Linked DNA regions of Homo sapiens: regions 2 and 3 are each linked to region 1. Evidence: promoter capture Hi-C in 16 types of primary human blood cells and fetal thymus (Javierre and others, 2016). All regions are on one chromosome and are shown on one strand. Each heading gives the region's core, a stretch centred on a gene start or on the middle of the fragment in contact. The rest is flanking DNA. Distances are from core to core; before and after follow the strand shown. Region 1 holds the start of DEDD2 (death effector domain containing 2). Region 2 has its middle 7.5 kb from the start of POU2F2-AS2. Region 3 has its middle 28 kb from the start of POU2F2-AS2.

Region 1 (2,506 bases), core at 5-2,504:
TCTCTTGTCTCAGCCTCCCAAGTAGTTGGGATTTCAGGCGCGTGCCACCACATCCGGCTAAGAACAGACAGGGTTTCATCATGTTGGCCAGGCTGGTCTCGAACTCCTGGCCTCGTGTGATCCGCCCACCTCGGCTTCTCAAAGTGCTGGGATTACAGACGTGAGCTACCGCGCGCAGCCGATTCTTTTGAATTCACTGCTACAGCTCAGGCAGAGCCAGTACTGGGCCAGTGCTAGGCAGGACCCAGATCTCCCGACTCCCAAGAGGAGTTAATTGCGGGGGTGGGAAGAGGTCCAGGGAGGGGACTTGTCTCAAGTACATGCAGGTCCTGACCTTGAGTCACCTAAGTGGGGGGCGTGGCGACCGTCACACCCAAGGCCCCGCGGTAAGGGGACACGCATACACCACAGCCTAGACTCCCTGACAGACCCTCTCTAGTTGTTGCAAGTTAGGGAGCGGGTATCTGGGCGACCCTGGAGGGCAGAGATTGGAAGGGGTTACGGAGGGGCCGTTTTGGCTCTGGGTGGAGACATCTGACTGTGATGGGGGTCGTGATGGACGCCATCGAGATGTACACAGTCGGAATGGAGGGTTCTGTTGCCGCTTGGAAGGAGGTATCCGTCCTGAACGTGAGATGAGGGAATTCTGGTTTTGATCAGGGGAAGGAACTTATAGACTGCGGGGGTGGTGGTGGGGGGGCGGGATTTCCATTTGGGATCACGAGAGAGCACAGTTGAGATGTAGATCCCTGGTTGTCACTAGAAGTGAGGGACAATCTAATGGAGGAGTGCCCAGGACCAGATCATATAAGGCCTGGGAGTTTACTGGGAGACGGGAAAGTAGTGATTGTGTTACTTTGCCACGGGCAACTAGGGGCAGTGGTGATGTGGGCGTCTAGCTCGTGATCAGGAGGGGGCTGTAGTTTATGAGATGAGTAGTTACAACTACTCGTGACGTGGCGCTACATGGCCCCGGTGGCTTGAGTCACGGGCAGGAAGTAGGGACCTGGAACCGGGTACCAGATACAGCCCAAGAGGCGGCGTGCTCTCGCTCTGCGCAAGCGCAGCACTCGCGAACCAAGATGCTTCGGTTGGGGGCAGGTCAAGCGGCCCAGGAAGGGCGGGGCTTGGAGGCCTCGTTCTGCGCATGCGCCGAAGGGGCGTGGCGGTCGCACCTGCGCGAGTTGGGGGAAGGAGGAGGGGCGAGGTGACGCAGGCGTAATAATAGAGAAGGTGCCAGAAAGATCCAAAACAAGTGGCTGCGGCCGTCGCCCAGGAGTCATCGGACGCCAGAATCTGGTGAGGATCCAGAGAGGCCTAATGGTGACTGGTGGCGGGTAGACAGGACCACCTGGGCTCTGGGGAGCGGGCGGGGCCGCCCTTGCAGGGCGAGGGGGTCGGGTTCGGACGGTACCACCTGTGTGGAGCAAAGGGGCTGCCTGGGTCGCTCCTCTGTGTAGGGGGCAGAGGGTCACTTTCGGGAGGTACCACTTGCGTAGAGCCGGGGGACTCATCAGACGGTACCGCTGGACGGAGAAAAGGGGCTCGTCTGGGCAGTCCTACCCAGAGTCAGGGGCAGTCAGCAGGGAGCCCCGGGGTGGGCCCCGAGGCTTGTTTGGGCCGCATCGTTTGGTCAGGTCCGGAGGCGAGCTCCGAACGTAGCACGGTGGTGGGGGCAGAAGCCGAGCGGGCTCCGGCGTCCCGACCTGTTCTTAGGGGACCTCGGGCGGGACCATTCCCTCCCGGGGGAGGGGGAGGCCGAGGCGGTTGGGGGTGCGGGAGCGGCCCTGCCCGGCGCGATTGGGCGGGGGAGACGCGCTGGCGGTGTGGGGTTCGGGCCTCCGCGTCGCTGACCACTGCCCCCTCCCCGCTGTGTGGGTTCTAGGCCGGGTTCTGAGCTTGTTCCGCCTCCCTCCCCCGGGAATGGCGCTATCCGGGTCGACCCCGGCCCCGTGCTGGGAGGAGGATGAGTGCCTGGACTACTACGGGATGCTGTCGCTTCACCGTATGTTCGAGGTGGTGGGCGGGCAACTGACCGAGTGCGAGCTGGAGCTCCTGGCCTTTCTGCTGGATGAGGCTCCTGGCGCCGCCGGAGGCTTAGCCCGGGCCCGCAGCGGCCTAGAGCTCCTGCTGGAGCTGGAGCGCCGCGGGCAGTGCGACGAGAGCAACCTGCGGCTGCTGGGGCAACTCCTGCGCGTGCTGGCCCGCCACGACCTGCTGCCGCACCTGGCGCGCAAGCGGCGCCGGCCAGGTACGGTTGAATGGGAGGGTGTCACACTTCCTGGGAGGAAAGGGCCTGGCTCCCGCTGGGCCTCCCTGGTGCCCTGATACGGACAGTGCCATATCAGGCAGCTTATGTCCCATTCTGCTACTCTCTCTTCCCACAATATCAATGAGCAACATAAGAGGAAGAAAGCATGGCTTTGGGAATTTGGCCACATCAGTGATGATGATTTTGGCCACTGTTTACGGAGGGCTTGTTTCATGCCAGGCACAGCTGTCAGCC
Region 2 (2,506 bases), core at 5-2,504, 58 kb after region 1:
ACTTGACGCCCTGCAGGGAGCAGCCCCTGCAATCTGGAAGCCTCGTCTTTCCCCATTTTTCTTACTGAACCCTGGACAGGCAAAGTCCTGGCATTCTCTCGTTCCTTGCACCTGGTTCTTTCTCTGATTAAAATTTGTCTTCCAGGTTTGGCTTGGGTGTTGTTTCCTCCCTAAGTCTTCTGTGATCTCACCCAGGATGCCCGCAGCACCCTCTGCTTACCCCAGCATGTTGGCATTGGCTCTTCCTTCTGTCTCCTCAACTTGCCTGTGAGCCCCGTAATAGAGCAGAGACCTTGTCTAATTCATCTCTGTCCCCTGCCACACTTGATTCAGAGCCAGAGAAATCTCAATATTTGTTGATGAACTAAATGCACAAATGAATGGACAAATGTACAAGTCAGAAATATCATTATGACTTTTATTTTTAATCTCCCCAGAGCACATAGGAACTTAATAATGAGTAACCTTTTCAAATTTCTTTCTCATTTGTTCCTCGTAGCAGTCCTTTGAGATACACCATTTAATCAGTTAATTCCTCCATCCACCCATCCATTCACTCCGTCGTCCGTTATGCACTAATTGAGCATCTCAAATTTGCCAGGCCCTCTGCCAAACACAAAAGCTTCAAGACACAGTTACAGTCCCTGCACTTTAAGAAGCTTCCAGTCTGATGGGAAAAACAGATGTTCCACAGTGGCAGGCACTAGTATGCCCATTTATGAGTTGGGGACACAGAGGCTCAGAGGCCAGAAGTGACTACTGAAGGCAACAAGTGGCTGACTGGACCTGAGTTCCAGGCACCTGACTCCACAGTTAGCCAACTGCAGCTCCTGATGATGTGACAGGAGGAGGGTTCCTCCACTGGAGGAGTGCATCATCCTGCATGAGGATGGGGAATTCTCCGGGATGTTGACTGCATTCTCCTCTCTCTCCAGGTTCTCGACTGGACCGGGTTGGTGGCCTGAATGTATTAGCTTCGCTGCGTCTGCCCAAGAGGTAAGGACCACGGCCTTAGAGTTTTGCTTATTGATGCACCTTCTGGTTTCTCACAGAAGTCTCTGCTTTCCCATCCTCGTCTCTGGCCTCACCCTGGGTGTGTTGCTGCCCTTCTCCACTCTGCCCACCCAGAGGTTAGAATCTGACTGCTTTGTTCTCACCCTCCATGCATCCTGTGGCTTTCGGGCCAAACCAGTGGTTCTTGGTGTTGATGACTGTGGGTGTTTCTGCTGATCAGTGTTACGGCTCAGTAGGAGAGAGATGGGGGTAACTCGGTGGCTCAGATCACAGCTTTGGGTTCAAGCACACCTATGTTCGAATCTCTTTTCCTGACTTCGAGGGACTTGGGAAAGTTTGAGCTTCCATTTCCTTGTCTGTAAATGGGAATACTAATAGAACCCACCTTAAGTGCCATCCTGAGAGCAAAAGGAGATAGAGGAAGAAGAGCCAGGTGGCTGAGTGATCCTGGGCATGGCTCAGTTTCCCCATCTGTCAAAGGAGGGTAATTAATAGCATTTACCACATGGAGGTGGCGTGAAGATGAAAGTACTTATTCCTTGAAATCGTGTGGCTGCAGGAAGTGGGAGCTCAAAATATGGCTGGAAGCGTTCCCCTGAACAAAGAAGGTTTTATGAAGCCCCTCCCTGAAGCCCACTGAGACTCCCAGGTAGAAGCCATAGTTCTCCTGCTGCTCACCTCTGTGGGAAGCAGGGGCTCTGGCCATTTGCCCTGGTGTTTGCTCCAGCTTGCTTGGTGAGGCCCTGGCAATGAGCATCTAGGGAGGAGGGTGGACAGGGCTTCTGGGGTGGGACAGCCCTCTACTGCCACCCCTATTCCCACCAGAGAAGCTTAACCCACAGGTCTCAGGACCCCAGGGAGGCCTTTGGGTGCCCTTGTAGGACTCCTGGGTAGGAGTCCTTTGCTGTACCAGGAATCACAGTCTCATTTTAAGAAGCAGATGGAAGCTGTAGCCCAGGGTTTGCAACCCAGCATTGTAGGGACTATGATGGACTGAAAAATGCATGGGGTGGGGGACTGCTTTTTAGCTCCACTGACTGTTCTCATGCACAGATGCAACCCTGACTTGCCAGGGTTTCTGATTTTTCAAGAGAAGCCAGGAACCCAGACTTGTGTGTGAAGTCTTCCAATCTTTAAATGTTGGCAACTAATGCAAAACTTGCAAAATCTCCTCGTGGTCCAAACAACATATTTCAGGCAACCTTTGGCCCATAGATACCTAGTTTCACAACAGTATAGAGCTTCTCCCAGGAAAACACATACCTACATTTGCCCAGTTGTGCTACACTTTGGGATGATCACAGACCCCCTGAAGCTCATTCATGGACCCCTGTTATCGCTGAGAGTGTTTGTTCCAGGATGTGTCATTTCTCTAGAGTGCTTTCTCCAGGGAACCGAAGTTGCAGTTTTTCCAGGAATCCTCACATCCTCGAAAAGAGAGTCAAGGAATTTCCAGGTTGCAGAATTAGTTTGGGAGCTAGAGACTGGCTTT
Region 3 (2,506 bases), core at 5-2,504, 37 kb after region 1:
GCCTCAGCCTCCTGAATAACAGGTCTCTTCTTTTTGCTCCTTGTCCTTGCACCACTTTTTTCCTTCTCCCCAGTTTCTTCCCTTCCTGCTTTGTGTGCCTTCGTTTCCCTTATCTTACACCCTTTATCCTCAGAGATTATAAGGGAGCCCCAAGACTTGTAACCAAGACACCAAGATGTACACACACGCACACACATGGCCACAGATGCGCGAACAAATGTTTCATTAATGAACAAATGCATCTATCTAAAGGTATGTTCAAGGCCGGGAGTGTTGGCTCACGCCTGTAATCCCAGCACTTTGGGAGGCCGAGGTGGGTGGACCACCAGGTCAGGAGTTTGAGTCCAGCTTGACCAACATGGTGAAACCCCGTCTCTACTAAAAAATACAAAAATTAGCTGGGCATGGTGGCATGCGCCTGTAATCCCAGCTACTCGGGAGGCTGAGGCAGGAGAATAGCTTGAACCCGGGAGGCAGAGGTTGCAGAGAGCCGAGATTGTGCCACTGCAGTCCAGCCTGAGTGACAAAGCAAGGCTCTGTCTCTAAATAAATAAATAAATAAATAAATAAATAAATGTATGTTCAGACGCACACACTCAATTAAGGTCATCCATAGCTTGCAATGTTTTGTACTTAGTATACATCAGGTACTATTATTTGTATACATGTTTCTGAAAGATGAACAGGCAGAATGAGGAGGGAATAAGAGCTGAGCTCATTCGTACAGGAAGAGCCATGTACATGCACACCTGTACCCAGAGATGGCCCTCACTCAGACATGCACACACACACATTCCTCAGAGGAATCTGGTACTTCTGGAATTATGCTATTTCAGAAGCAGAGAGAGCACACATGTTTTTGCTGTGTTGTGTACAGTGTATGGTGTACGTCTTTGCATGTGCCTGGTGTGTATACATGTGCTGCATCAGCCTTCGTGGAATCATGACTCGGGGCTGGGCGGAGCCCTAGAAATCAGTTAGGACAACCTGCATGTGCGGATTGCTTAAGTCTCCTATTGGATCTGACTTTTGTAAGTCCATGAGGGATGTCAGCTTCTGCTTAATATGGATATTCTGGATAATTAAGATACCAATCATGCATAGGTTGTGGACCACAGACTCTTAACATACTGGCAAGTAAGCATATGATATGGACTTAGCACATATCAAACCAAGTTTTTTGGATCCTTAAAATTGGTGCTTTAGCCTGGGGAACATATGGAGACCTCATCTCTGCTTAAAAAAAAAAAAAATAGATGGGTGTGGTGGTGCATGCCTGTAGTCCCAGCTACTTGGGAGGCTGAGGCAAGAGGGGATTGCTTGAGCCCAGGAGTTTGAGGCTACAGTGAGCCATGATCACGCTGCGGCACTCCAGCCTGGGTGACAGAGGGAGACCCTGTCTCAAAACAAACAAACAAACAAACAGACAAACATTGGTGCTGTGTGCTTAGTGTATACTCACTGTATACACAATTATTATGTACTTGGTCATTCTTAGGAAGGATGACCGCCCCCCACCCCACCCATGTACTGGTCCTTGTAGGTGCCAGGGCCAAGGCAGGGAACAGGACATCCTTGGTCTCTGCCCTGTCCCTGCTTCCCTTCTAGTAGGTACTCAGGCTGTCCATAGCTCCTCCTAGGTCTATTGTACACGTACAGATGGAGGGACCTGGGAGTCTGCTGGGTAGATTCATTGCAGGGTCCAGTATTCCTTGTTGCTCCTTCCAGAATGGATAGTGTGTGGGTTGTCATTATATACACCCTTTTTTGAGTTCTCTCCTCACTATTGGGACCCCATGTGCCTTTGTATGCAAGCGGAGTGGGTGTTTCTTATGTTCAGTTTTGTTATGTGCCTTTGTGGATCACCAGAACCTGCTCATGGGTGTCTCTTATGTTCACACTAGCTAAGTCTATTAGGTTGGTGTGCCAGCTTTGTAGGCATGGGGGATAGGGTACTTCCTGCATTCATTTATGTTGTGCCCACACAGTATGGGTCCCAGGGAGGCTGGTTGGTAGGTGGCTATGGGGTGGTTCCGTGTCCACTATGTTCATGCCCTGTAGGCCCATGTGCCTAGTTTGTGTGCAGTTGGAGTGGGCGTTTCCTGTATTTATTTGTGTTGTGAACACACTGTGTGGATCCCAGGAGTCTGCTCTGTATGGGGGTATTAAGTGGTCCCATGTCCATTATGCATCTGCTGCATAAGACCCAAATACCTACTTTGTATGGACAGAGGGTAGTATTCCTTGCATTTATTTGTGTTGCGCACACAGTGCGGGTCCCAGGAGGCTGCTCCGTACAGGGAGTAGTAGGTAGTTCTGTGTCTATTATGCACACGCTGCACAGGTCCTGGGTACTTACTTTGTACGCCCACGGGGTAGGTGTTTCCTATATTTATTTATGTTACGCACTTCCAGTGTAGGTCTTGGGAGCGTTCTCCATACACGTGGGCAGTTGGTGATTCTCGTGTTTCTCACACACACATGAGGGTCCCGCGTGTCCACTCAG

What was found. The method cuts DNA at HindIII sites, captures the fragments that hold promoters and counts their contacts. A CHiCAGO score of 5 or more calls a contact.
Region 2: a fragment that was not itself captured here is called in contact with the fragment with the promoter of DEDD2 in region 1 in 7 of 17 cell types (naive B cells, total B cells, naive CD4 T cells and 4 more); the score reaches 8.8 in naive B cells.
Region 3: a contact is called between a fragment that was not itself captured here and the fragment with the promoter of DEDD2 in region 1, in 7 of 17 cell types (monocytes, total CD8 T cells, fetal thymus and 4 more). The highest score is 7.9, in monocytes.

The regions. Positions count from the first base shown.
Region 1 is chr19:42,216,425-42,218,930 of GRCh38, reverse strand. DEDD2 (death effector domain containing 2) reads left to right here and starts at 1,254. Exons shown (of 5, transcript NM_133328.4): 1 at 1,254-1,299; 2 at 1,886-2,251. The coding sequence starts at 1,924. RefSeq lists enhancers at 1-18, 19-895 and silencers at 1,667-1,766, 1,777-1,836, 1,918-2,123. The HindIII fragment of the contact is 12,709 bases long and covers 1-2,506 here.
Region 2 is chr19:42,158,822-42,161,327 of GRCh38, reverse strand. It overlaps a transcript of POU2F2 not described here. Among named protein-coding and RNA genes, the nearest start is that of POU2F2-AS2, 7.5 kb to the right of the region's middle. The HindIII fragment of the contact is 1,185 bases long and covers 662-1,846 here.
Region 3 is chr19:42,179,642-42,182,147 of GRCh38, reverse strand. It overlaps a transcript of POU2F2 not described here. Among named protein-coding and RNA genes, the nearest start is that of POU2F2-AS2, 28 kb to the right of the region's middle. The HindIII fragment of the contact is 7,957 bases long and covers 1-2,506 here.